Regions from separate parts of the Homo sapiens genome. Here region 1 is linked to region 2. The links are contacts of gene promoters, found by promoter capture Hi-C in blood cells and fetal thymus (Javierre and others, 2016). All regions are on one chromosome and are shown on one strand. The core of a region is centred on a gene start or on the middle of the fragment in contact, and the rest is flanking DNA. Distances in the headings are between cores, read along the strand shown. Region 1 has its middle 22 kb from the start of FRMD5. Region 2 holds the start of EIF3J (eukaryotic translation initiation factor 3 subunit J).

What was found. The method cuts DNA at HindIII sites, captures the fragments that hold promoters and counts their contacts. A CHiCAGO score of 5 or more calls a contact.
Region 1: a contact is called between a fragment that was not itself captured here and the fragment with the promoter of EIF3J in region 2, in 1 of 17 cell types (erythroblasts). The highest score is 5.0, in erythroblasts.

What each region holds. Positions count from the first base shown.
Region 1 is chr15:44,214,426-44,220,320 of GRCh38, forward strand. No RefSeq gene overlaps it. Among named protein-coding and RNA genes, the nearest start is that of FRMD5, 22 kb to the left of the region's middle. The HindIII fragment of the contact is 1,979 bases long and covers 2,566-4,544 here.
Region 2 is chr15:44,533,563-44,539,914 of GRCh38, forward strand. It overlaps EIF3J (eukaryotic translation initiation factor 3 subunit J), which reads left to right and starts at 3,585. Exons shown (of 8, transcript NM_003758.4): 1 at 3,585-3,675; 2 at 3,762-3,865. The coding sequence starts at 3,633. It overlaps EIF3J-DT (EIF3J divergent transcript), which reads right to left and starts at 3,361. Exons shown (of 2, transcript NR_034170.1): 1 at 2,481-3,361; 2 at 943-1,912. RefSeq lists enhancers at 2,253-3,040, 2,728-3,177 and silencers at 3,348-3,517, 3,708-4,017, 4,038-4,087. The HindIII fragment of the contact is 7,095 bases long and covers 1-4,151 here.

The DNA of each region.
Region 1 (5,895 bases), core at 2,305-4,804, 320 kb before region 2:
TAATTAGATCAATTGGGCCATTCCATAATATTTCAAAACACCATGTTGTATATAATAAATATATATATTTTTATATATAATTATATATATTTATTATGTACAATTTTATATATAATTTTGTTTTGTTTCTGAGATGGGGGTCTCTCTGTTGCCCAGGCTGACCTTGAACTTTTGGGCTCAAAGGATCCTCCCACCTCAGCCTCCCAAGTAGCTGCGACTAAAGGCATTTATCTCTACATTCGGCTTATACATAACATTTTTGTCAATTTAAAAAATTGAAAAGAAATTTTAAAAATTAGAGACAATGAATTGCAGATACTTAGCGTTTAAGCCCTTTAGGATCCACGTTTTGTCCATCTTCACATTTCAAATCCATTCTGGCCTCTACTAATAACTGCAACACTTGATTTTTTTTATTTCTGTATCTGCCCAAATCACCAACCAAGTGTTGACAAGATAGTTGTGAGCATTTGTCAATTTGTACAACTGATGCTGACTCTCCTTGTGGAGAATTTCCTGGAAATTTTATGTTTATGCTTCAAGAAATTTCACAAGTAATGCCTGCAAATATCTCCACCTTCCCTTGAGCTAGGTGCTCAGTGACCAAAATTAACATCAGGAAAGCCAATCCACATCTTTTAATTTTAACCTCCAAATAAATGAGACCAATGTAAATACCATCTGAGTGTGCAAATGTGTAAAGGAAAAAATCAAGGTGATACCCTTATTAATTAACACATTATAATTTCAACTTCCAACCTGAAAATGAGCCACTTCATTAAAATATAGCCATAACCAGAAGAGGTTGCAGTGAGCCGAGATTGTGCCATTGCACTCCAGCCTAGGTGACAAGAGCAAAACTCCATCTAAAAAAAAAAAATACATATATATATATATATATATATGGCCATACCATTGTCAATTCCAAGTCACATTTCAGGGAAGAATAAGTGGTGATCCATCTAATGACCAAATTCAGTCACGATAATCCCATGTCACTGCAATTTAGCCCAAGCCTCTTTCTATGCAAAGACAGAGAAAGTGCCCTCCTAATTGTTTTTAATTTTCTTTAATTTTTAACTTTTACACACTATATGAAAGTTCCCTTCTGGCATCTAGAGTTTCCTAGGAATAGGAGATAAAGATCTCATGCTGAGTGGCTTTTTTAACTCACTCAGTAAGAACTTAGAATTTTAGGAGCTGAGCTAGAGATGATTTCCAAATGCATCTGTGCAGAAAATGCTGATTATGGGTACTAGTCCAGGAATAACCACAGCCATTTTTTGGCCTTCTTGTGTTTTCCAAATGACTCATAAAGGACCTTCTGCATTCAAATAGTGTGTCATGAAATGGGAATGATAAAATACAGAAAGCGGACATTGCTGTCTCTTCTTGATGAATGCAGCTTTTTGTTACCTGGTATGAGGCCAGAATAGCCCGTCTAAAACAGGAGTGAGTTGTACTCCATGCCAGCCACTTCCTGTGCTCTGTGCTATTTCTCTGCTATTTGTGTGACTTCTCCCTGGGGGAAGCAATGCGGCTTTGTCTTTGAGAATGTCTGGTCCAGTGGTTCTTAACCCTGTCTGCAAATTAGAATTACCTGGGAACTGTTAAAAAAAAAAAAAAAAAAAAAAAAAAAATATATATATATATATATATATATATATATATATATATATATGTTAATTCTGCCAATTAAATTAGAATTTCTGGGAACTAGACTTGGATATCAGTGTTTTTAAAAAGCTCTCCAAAAGACTTAAATGTTCCACTAGAGCTGAGAACCCCCTAAATTAGATTTGATGAAGATAACCTGACCATTATAGACCAATGTTACTCAACCTTTATTTCATTATCACCTCTCAAGGAGCCTTTTTAGACTTTTTTCCTAATCATCCCCCCATAAATATTTAATATATAGTATATCTATTTGTGTACTATATATACAATAACATCTGTGTGTTTTGTTTTTGTTTTTTTTATTTGGGGGGCTCAAAAATCCTCCTGTCTCAGTCTCTCAAGTAGCTGGGATTGCAGGTGCAGGCCACTACACGTGGCTAATTGTCTTATTTGTTTGTTAAGGGATTAGGGCTCACTATGTTGCATGAGCCACCACACCCAGCACATCTGAGTTTTATAACATTTAAAAAAAAAAAAAAAGCCCGGGCACGGTGGCTCACGCCTGTAATCCCAGCACTTTGGGAGGCCAAGGTGGGTGGATCATTTGAGGTCAGGAGTTCGAGACCAGCCTGGCCAACATGGTGAAACCCCATCTCTACTAAAAATACAAAAAAAAAAAAAAAAAAAATCAGCTGACATGGTGGCGGGCACTTGTAATCCCAGCTTCTTGGGAGGCTGAGGCAGGAGAATTGCTTGAACCGAGGAGGTGGAGGTTGCAGTGAGCCAAGACCACGCCATTGCACTCCAGCCTGGGCAACAAGAACAAAACTCCGTCTCAAAAAAAAAAAAAGGCCAATTTTTGCCTTCCATGGGGTGAAACCTCTCCCATTGAGAATGTATGATGTAGGGTTGTGCTACAGTGACAAACAACCTTAAAAAAGCAAAAGCTTACATCTCATTCACACCACATGTGCATTGGAGGTCAGCAAAGTTGCTCTGCTCTCTCCATCATTATTTTCACTTTGGCACCCAGACTGCCAGAGCAACTTCTGTCTGGAATGTTATTGGTAACCATGGCAGAGGAAAAGCAGACCATGAAAAAGCATGCTCTGGCTCTTAAAACTTCTGCCAGAGGAACCCCCAGAGCTTCCACTCACATTTCAATGGCCAAAGCAACTCACATGGTGACATCTGAGCTCAACAGGACAGGTTATTGTGATCTTTCCACATGAAGAGGAACCAGGTATCAGTGAGCAGTCTACTAGAGCCGGCAGTCTCTCAGACATGTCCACTGTGATTAAGAGACATAAACACTCCCATTGGCCAGTAAGAGCTGATCTTCTGGTTATCGTGCACCTGGCTCCAGACCAAGGTAGGGCATAACATGGCACTGGCAATGCTATTTCCTTCTGATTTGTATGCCCATCTTTCACTTAAAATTGAGGTGGAATTAAGAGGACACAGTGGCTGGGTGTGGTGGCTCATGTCTGTAATCCCAGCACTTTGGGTGGCCGAGGCAGGCGGATCATGAGGTCAGGAGACCGAGACCATCCTGGATAACACGGTGAAACCCCGTCTCCACTAAAAATACAAAAACAAAATTAGCCGGGTGTGGTGGTTGGTGCCTATAGTCCCAGCTACTCAGGAGGCTGAGGCGGGAGAATGGCGTGAACCCGGGAGGCGGAGCTTTCAGTGAGCCGAGATCGCACCACTGCACTCCAGCCTGGGCAACAGAGCCAGACTCCGTCTCAAAAAAAAAGAAGAGAGAGAGAGAGAGAACACAGTTACGGTTCTTCTAACACTGTGACAACGAGCCCAGCACTTGCATTATTAACAAGAATGTTTTTAGTAGATTCTCCTAATTAGCTCTGGGATCACATCAGGTTTTCTTTATTGGCTTTTAACCGGGTTTCATATTTCCAGTCTGAGGTTTGGGAGTGCCCATTGACTAAATTATATAGCCTGTGCAAAATTTGTTTTAACTTCAAACCTAGAAAATGCAGGTCAACATCCTGGGTTTTTGTTGTTGTTTTTGTTTATCAATAAAAGTTCTGCCAGGACTATATAAGATGTCTAAGCCTTATGAAGGCAATAGCCAGGATTTTTCCCGTTACAAACCATGATCATTGGACATATTGCCAAGCACTGTAATCCAGAATGAAGTTTGGATACAGCACGGAAAAAAAAAGTGGAAATTCATAGTTGAAATCAGGCACATCATTTAGAAGTAGCCAGGGGTCACTAAAAGAAGTAATGCTGGCTGGTCGCAGTGGCTCACGCCTGTAATCCCAACACTTTGGGAGGCCAAGGCGGGCGGATCACGAGGTCAGGAGATCGAGACCATCCTGGCTAACACGGTGAAACCCCGTCTCTATTAAAAATACAAAAAAGTAGCCGGGCATGGTGGCAGGCGCCTGTTGTCCCAGCTACTCGGGAGGCTGAGGCAGGAGAATGGTGTGAACCAGGAAGGCAGAGCTTGCAGTGAGCTGAGATCCCGCCACTGCACTCCAGCCTGGGGGACAGAGCGAGACTCCATCTCAAAAAAAAAGAAATAATGCTTGTGGAAAGTAAAGATTTAACTTAAACTGATTGACATTATGACTCAAAGTATTTAGTATGGTATTTCTCTCCATTGTTGTAATTAGGTACAACAATTCCCATTAGTTACCAAAAGACTGTCTAAACTACAAAGTTGGTCTAAGAGCTCAGCAGCTTTTAGAAAGACTCTTGATTAGAAAAAAAAAAAAAAATGCTGGTTCTTGGTCCTGTGTTCTAGGCTCTATACCCATTACTTTGAAGGACCCCAAACAGTAGATCACATCACAATAGATCCATAATAATTAGAGACGTATCTTGCAAATTCCATAATGTGTTTCCCACATTCTTCTTTCTCTGTGGTTTGTCTGGGTTTACCTTGGGAACAAAGCTTCACTCTTAGTAACTGTCCCTCACACAAACCTTTTCTGTCATAGTCCATTCCTTGCCTCTGCTTCTGCCCCTGCCCCTATCCCTGCTGCAATGATCTCAAGGATTTGAGGAGACGAAGAGTTTTCCTTTCTACAATTCCATCACTTACTACTTTCTTCAGTTCTGTCCTCTCCTAGGTCATGGAGAAGCATATTATTGAATGTCACAGAGAAGGGTCATTCTCTCAGGATCCTAAAGATGTCACCAGTAACAAACGTTTTATTCCAGTAGATATGTGATCTCACATAGAAAGTCTAAAAAGCATTCTCCTCACCATATGTCGCTAGAATTTAATGACCAAAACAGGACCATCTGTGCTTTTTATCACCTGTTCCTGCTGGAAATCTACAAGGTTGGGAAACTCAAACATGATCTCCCCAACTCTTTTTGGGGAAGGGCACTATTGAAAGATCCAGGTCTTTTCTAGTAGCCTAGAGACTTCTGGAGCCATGAGGGATACTGTGGAAACCCTTGAATTGACTGGGTCCAGTTCATTGTAAAGAGAAAATTCTGTGCATGACACAATTGGATGCACGCTTTCTCAAAACTGACCCTAGCTGTTGCAGTTCCTCCATGGAGATAGGAAATTGATAGAAGTTTTCTGGGCGGCAACCCACTGCCCTGTGCTTCATTTGGTTCTCTCCGTCCCTAACCTATTTCCTACTGTTTATCCACACAGTTACAGCTCTATCTGGTGCAGTTCTTTGTTCACTTTTGGTTTTTCTCATGACGGGAATCTGGCTTTGACCTGGCATTTCAGTACCAGGGACTGATTCAGTCACTGGGAGAATGACTTGAATATTCATAGTCGACTCTGGCAGTCACTGTCTGGCCATGGGGAGATTGTTGAAGAGTAAGCAATACTGCCGCCTTGTGGAAGACAATAGTTATATTCTTTGTGGCAGAAATGGCAACAAAGAAAAGTAACCTCTGCTTTTTTTTTTTTTTTTTTCTTTTTTTTGGAGAGGCAGTCTCACTCTTGTCCACCAGGCTGGAGTGCAATGGCACTATCTCGACTCACTGCAACCTCTACCTCCCAGGTTCAAGCAATTCTCCTGCCTCAGCCTCCCGAGTAGCTGGGATTACAGGCAACTGCCACCACGCCCAGCTAATTTTTGTATTTTGGGTAGAGACGGGGTTTCACCATGTTGGCCAGGCTGGTCTCGAACTCGTGACCTCAGGTGATCCACCCGCGTCAGCCTCCCAAAGTGCTGGGATTACAGGCATGAGCCACCGCGCCTGGCCTTAACCTGTGCTTTTCTACTTTGTACTTTTTTGAATTGTTTGAATTTTGCCATTTGCATGAAT
Region 2 (6,352 bases), core at 2,335-4,834:
CAAACCATTGTCCTGCCTCAACCTCCCAAGTAGCTGGAATTATAGGCATGAGCCACTATACCTGGCTAATTTTTGTATTTTTAGTAGAGACAGGTTTCACCATGTCCAGGCTAGTCTCGAACTACTGACCTCAAGTGATCCACCCACCTCGGCCTCCCAAAGTGCTGGGATTACAGGCATGAGCCACCGCGCCCAGCCTTCTTCTTTTTTTTTGAGAGGGAGTTTCGCTCGTCGCCCAGGCTAAAGTGCAATGGCGCGATCTTAGCTCACTGCAACTTCTGCCTCCCGGTTCAAGTGATTCTCCTGCCTCATCTTCCCGAGTAGCTGGTATTACGGTGCCCGCCAACATGCCCAGCTAATTTTTTTTTTATTTTTAGTAGAGATGGGGTTTGCCACATTGGCCAGGCTGGTCTTGAACTCCTGACCTCAGGTGATCCGCCCGCCTCAGCCTCCTAAAGTGCTGGGATTACAGGCGTGAGCCACTGTGCCCAGCATTTTTTTTTGTTGTTTGTTTTCAGATGGAGTCTCTCCCAGGCTGGAGTGGAGTAGCACAATCTCGGCTCACTGCAACCTCTGTTTCCTGGGTTCAAGCAATTTTCCTGCTTTAGCCTCCTGAGGAGCTGGGGTTACAGGCATGTGCCACCACGCCCGGCTAATTTTTGTATTTTTAGTGGTCTTGGGGTTTCATCATGTTGGCCAGGCTGGTCTTGAATTACTTCAAATGATCTGCCTGCCTCAGCCTCCCTAAGTGCTGGGATTACAGGCGTGAGCCCGTAATAGGCGTGCCTAACCAGTTTTCAGGTTTTTGACTTAAGCAACTAGATAAGTGTCACTCAATATCCAAAGGCATCGTCTATCTATTTCTCCCTTCCCCTCCTCCTTCATATCTAGTCAGACACTATATTAGTACGGGTTCTCCAGAGAAACAGAATCAATAGGATGTGTATATGCAGAAAGAGATTTATTTTAAGGAATTGGCTCACATTATTCTGGGAGCTGGCAAGTCTGAAATCTGCAGGGCAGACAAACAGCCTGGAGACCCAGGGAGATTTGACGCTGCAGTCTGGAGGCTGAATTGCTTCTTCTTAAGGGTCTCGTTTTAATTTGAACTGACCGGATGCGGCCCACCCTCATTATAGAGGGTAATGTACTTTAATCAAAGTCTGCTGATTTAAATGTTAATCACATCTAACAAATACAATTCATAGCAACAACTAGACTAGTGTTTGACCAAAAACTGAGTAACATGGGTAGCATCGCCTAGCCAAGTTGATAGATAAAATTAACCATTAAAGTCACTAAGTTCCATTGACAATGACCTTTAAATATTTCTCAAGTTGGTTTCTTCTTCTCCATTGCCATTGCCTTAATTTAGGCTTGTGTTCTCGTTTAATTAATTCATAAAATACTTACGTATTAGGCATTATGCCAAATGTTGGAGATACAATTGTGAGTAAGATTGTGTCCTTAGGGACTTACATTCCACCCTTTTCCTGACTTCTTTCTTGCCTCCTTCCAATCCACATTTTTTTTTTTTTTTGGTCTTGTCACTTTGATGCCCAGGCTGGAGTGTAGTGGCCAGAACGTGGCTCACTGCAGCCTCAACTGCCTCAGCTTCCTGAGTAGCTGGGACCACAGGACCACAGGTGCACACCACTATGCCTGGATATATATATTTTTTTGTAAAGATGGGGTCTCACCATGTTGGCCAGGTTGGTCTCGAACTCCTGGGCTCAAGCGATCCTCCCGCTTTGGCCTCCCACAGTGCCGGGATTACAGACGTTGAGCCACCGTGTCCGGCCCTGATCCACCTTTATAAATGGCTGTCTGTAGATCATGGCCTCTCACATTTTAACTGGGCTGTAGAATATGTATTGAAGGATCATCTTTATAAAATGTTTATTTGTAGACTCTGAAAAGATAACACCAGAAAGGGGGAACAATGGTTACCACTAGAAAGAACGGAGCGGAGCAGCTGATCGTTGTATCTACCTTTTTTGTTTTTTTTTTTTTTTTGAGACGGGTCTAACTGTCGCCCAGGCTGGAGAGCCGTGGCGCGATCTCGGCTCACTGTTGCAACCTCCGCCTCCCGGGTTCAAGCGATTCTCCTGCCTCAGCCTCCCTAGTAGTGGGGATTACAGGCGCCCGCCACCACGCCCAGGTGATTTTTGTATTTTTAGTAGAGGTGGGGTTTTACCATGTTGGCCAGGCTGGTCTCGAACTCCTGACAGCAAATGATCCGCCCATCTCGGCCTCCCAAAATGCTGGGATTACAGGCGTGAGCCACCGCGTCCTGCCCACGTATCTACCTTTTTATCACATGAATGTTGTACCAAGTTCGCGTATTACATATTTGAAAATAAATTGCGAAAATAACAAAAACAAAATCCATCTACTGGCTAGCTCTTTAAAATCCTGCGGGGGAGCCCAGTGGCCCAACGGCGAAGTTTAGCCCATCTTGCCCTTTCTGGTCAGTGTACCTGTTCCATTTATCTCTGACTGCGCCACTCAGTCAGGTGAGGGACCACTGGAGTTTTCTACCGGAAATGCACTTCAGCAAATGCCACTTGCTCTCTCCAACTTCAGTTTCAACCAGCGCCTACCTCAGGAAGCCTTCCTTCATCCTCCGGCCCCCGCCGCCGCTAAGGTTATCCTTTTACATTCAACCTCATAATGCTGCTTTTTGTGGCAGTCATCACAGTGTCGAAATTTGTTTACATGTCCATCTTTGCTACTTGATGGAGGGCAAAGATACACCTCATACCTAGCATAGACCCCAGGAGGTCCGAAATTGTTCTGCGAAAGAAAAAAAAATCAATGTGCTGGCCTCAAAGGGGCTCACAGGAAGGGAAAAGCCTCGAAGACTAAGGCTCTCTTCGATTCCTTCGTGACTAACTCGAGGCAAACATGCCAGGAACGCGGCTCTCCCCACCCGCTCCTGCATCTGCGCCCGGGGATCGCCGGATTCCAGAGGGGTCCCCTCCACCTAGCGCGCGACGACTCCCTCTGGGGTCCCGGAAGCCCGGCCACCGACCCCACAGGCGGGCGTGGCCTCAGAGCCCTCTTCTGAGCACGGCGTGGGTATCCGCAGGCGGCCATGGACGGTGATCACAGTGACCAGAGGGACAGCGCACCCTCCGGTCGAAGCGGGGTAGGCGTTGGCAGGGGAGGGGCGACGAAGACTGGCGAGGTTCAGGCGCCAGCCAAAGAACCACTCTGCTAACTTCCTGGCACTTACGTTTCCTACCCGGGGCCCAGAGTCGGGCGGCGGTCTTCCAGCACCACGAACTCCAGTACTGGTCTGCGTTGTAGGGAGCTGGAAGCCCGACCCAGCACTCCTCAGCCCCCTGTGCCCCTCCCTCTGCTCTTTCCGCCCCTCCCTCCGCCCCCCTCCGCCCCCCCCTCCGCCTCTCCCTCAGCCCCGCAGCGCCACCGACCGCGTTCCCCGCCCACTTCTTACCCGCGCGCGTCGCCGCCGCCGCCTGAGGGGGCGTGGCCTCGGCTCGGCGCACAGTCAGCCACGGTCCCATCCTGCTCCGCGCCGGTCAACGAGAGCAAACCCAGTGACTCACCTCCGCCGTGCTAACTCCTCGCTAGCTCTCCCTCTCACACACGCTCACACCCGGCTCGAGATGGCGGCGGCGGCGGCGGCGGCGGGGGACTCGGACTCCTGGGGTGAGGAGAAGTTGCTGGGGCAGGGCCCGGGCCGGCGCCGGCCCCACGCAGTGGCAGGCACTAACACGGCTCGCTTTCTTCCGTAGACGCCGACGCTTTCTCCGTGGAAGACCCAGTGCGGAAGGTGGGGGGCGGCGGCACTGCCGGCGGGGACCGCTGGGAAGGCGAGGACGAGGACGAGGACGTCAAGGTGGGTGCGGGCTAGGGCGCCGGGCAGCGCGGAAGCGGGCTGGCGCTGTTGCCGGCCGACTCTGGGCCCCGGGTCGCTGCCGGGGCCTGCGGGCCGTGGGTCCAGGCGCGAGCATAGGGCCTGGCGGTGCTCTCTTCCCCTCCGCTTGCCGGCCATGTGTGGGCCGAAGACTGGCAGCGTGGCCTCCCGGACTCCCTCGCCGGTTGAGAGTCTGCTCTCCGGCGTGGATCCCACCCGCCGGCTGGCGACGAAAGGTGACAGCATCGGCCGGGTCGGCCCACGTGCAAGCTTCGCGGTCCGGAGCCTCTCGCAGGAATGAGACCGGGAAGTTGGGAATTGAGCCTTGTAGCTTATCCATATGGAAAGCCTTGAGACTCGCCTGTCTTTTCGAGCTCAAGTCAGCCCAGGGCCAGTAACTCATTTATGACCCTGAGGTCTACTTATACAGTTTGTTCGAGGGATTAGATGAGTGAAATATTGTAGTTGAATTTCAACCTTTTTTTCCCACACGAGACAGCTAGAAACAGTAAAGGGAAATAACTTTTGGCTCTCCCTTCCCCCACCCTGTGGTAAAAAGAATGAACTGACCACTGAGATAGCCCGCAGTTAGTGGACAGAAACCCAGGTAGTTCACACCGTGACCTGAGAAATGGAGAGACGACAGTTACTCAACTACACACATACGACACCTAAGGAAATATTGAAGATTTGGTGGTGGTTGTAGATGACGGGCCCGTGGTTTTTTGTTGTTGTTGTTGTTTTGTCTGTGCCTTGTAGATAATCATTTTTACCTCAGTCGTTTGATTTTGAAAACTCCGAAGGGTTCATTATACAGCTGTAAGTGACATTTACTTCTACATGGTTTTTTTTTTTTTTTACAGTAGTTACAGAAGTCTCAAATCCAAAATGTTAAGACTCTTATTAACAAAGTTCTCAAAATCTTGTTATATTTGTGCAGATAAAGTTTTGTGTGAAATGGAAAATGATTTTTTTTTGTGGTTTTGCCTAATTTAGTGAATTTCTCCTAATTTATAAACACAAACGGAGAACCCTATAAATCCTGCCTGGGCTGAAAAGTTTAAGCTAGATAATCACTATGAACTTAATAGGAATGTTGTTTTGAGTTTTTCTGTTCTCTCCCCAGTCCGATGAGGTTGGATGTGTGGATGTCCGATTTACTGACAGCCTGAGGTTCAAGAATGTTGTGAGCTTTGCACACATTGAAGTTAATAAATCGACTGGTTATTGTTTGAAGACACTCAGATGCTTTATTTACATGTTGTAGAAACATGGGACTAGATTTTGTTACCAGCCGCATTACAAGATATTAGTTACCCCTCTACATTGTAGCAGATTTTCAGTTTTGAGCCTTGGGTTCATATTGGTCCTTTCATTTTTTTCCATGCATATAGGAAGTGGCAGTTAAGACATCTGTTATGAAATTTGGGAATAAATTAACAAATGCAGAGAAAAGATTAGAGATATTAGGAAAGAAGTTGCAGAAAATGAAGTTTTAATGGATAGTCTAGACTAATGTCATGGAATAACTTCCTTGGGATTAAGGGATCTAAATGGTATCGATCTTGATGAATATAATTCTTTTTTTTTTTTTTTTTGAGATGGAGTTTCGCTCTTGTTGCCCAGGCTGGAGTGCAATGGCGCGATCTTGGCTCACTGCAACCTCCACCTCCTGGGTTCAAGTGATTCTCCTGCTTCAGCCTCCCAAGTAGCTGGGATTACAGGCACGCACCACCACGCCTGGCTAATTTTGTATTTTTAGTAGAGACGGGGTTTCGCCATGTTGCCCAGGCTGGTCTTGAACTTCTGACCTCAGGTGATTCTCCTGCCTTAGCCTCCCAAAGTGCTGGAATTATAGGCGTGAGCTACCGTACCCAGCCTCTGATGAATATAATTCTGATCACTTGGAACAAGTTTTGGATATTTACAAGTTGTAAGGGACCACAAAGATTATCTTGTCCAGTTGCTCTTTTTTTTTTGGAAATGGAGTCTCGCTCTGTCACCCAGGCTGGAGTGCAGTGGCACAATCTCCGCTCACTGCAAGCTCCGCCTCCCAGGTTCACTCCATTCTCCTGCCTCAGCCTCCCGAGGACTACAGGTGCCCACCACCACGCCCGGCTAATTTTTTCTATTTTTAGTAGAGACGGGGTTTCACCGTGTTAGCCAGGATGGTCTCAATCTCCTGACCTTGTGATCTGCCCGCCTTGGCCTCCCAAAGTGCTGGGATTACAGGCGTGAGCCACCACACCCGGCCCCAGTTGCTGTTTTAGTGCTAAATTTCTTTTTCTTTTTTTTTTTTTTTTTTAACTTAAAGCAATCTATCTATTCATCTAATTTTTTGAGAGAAGGTCTCACCCCGTTTCCCAGGCTGGAGTGCAGTGGCACGATCTCTGCAACCTCCGCCTCCCGGATTCAAGTGATTCTCCAGCCTCAGCCTTTCTAGTAGCTGGGATTACAGGTGTGCACCGC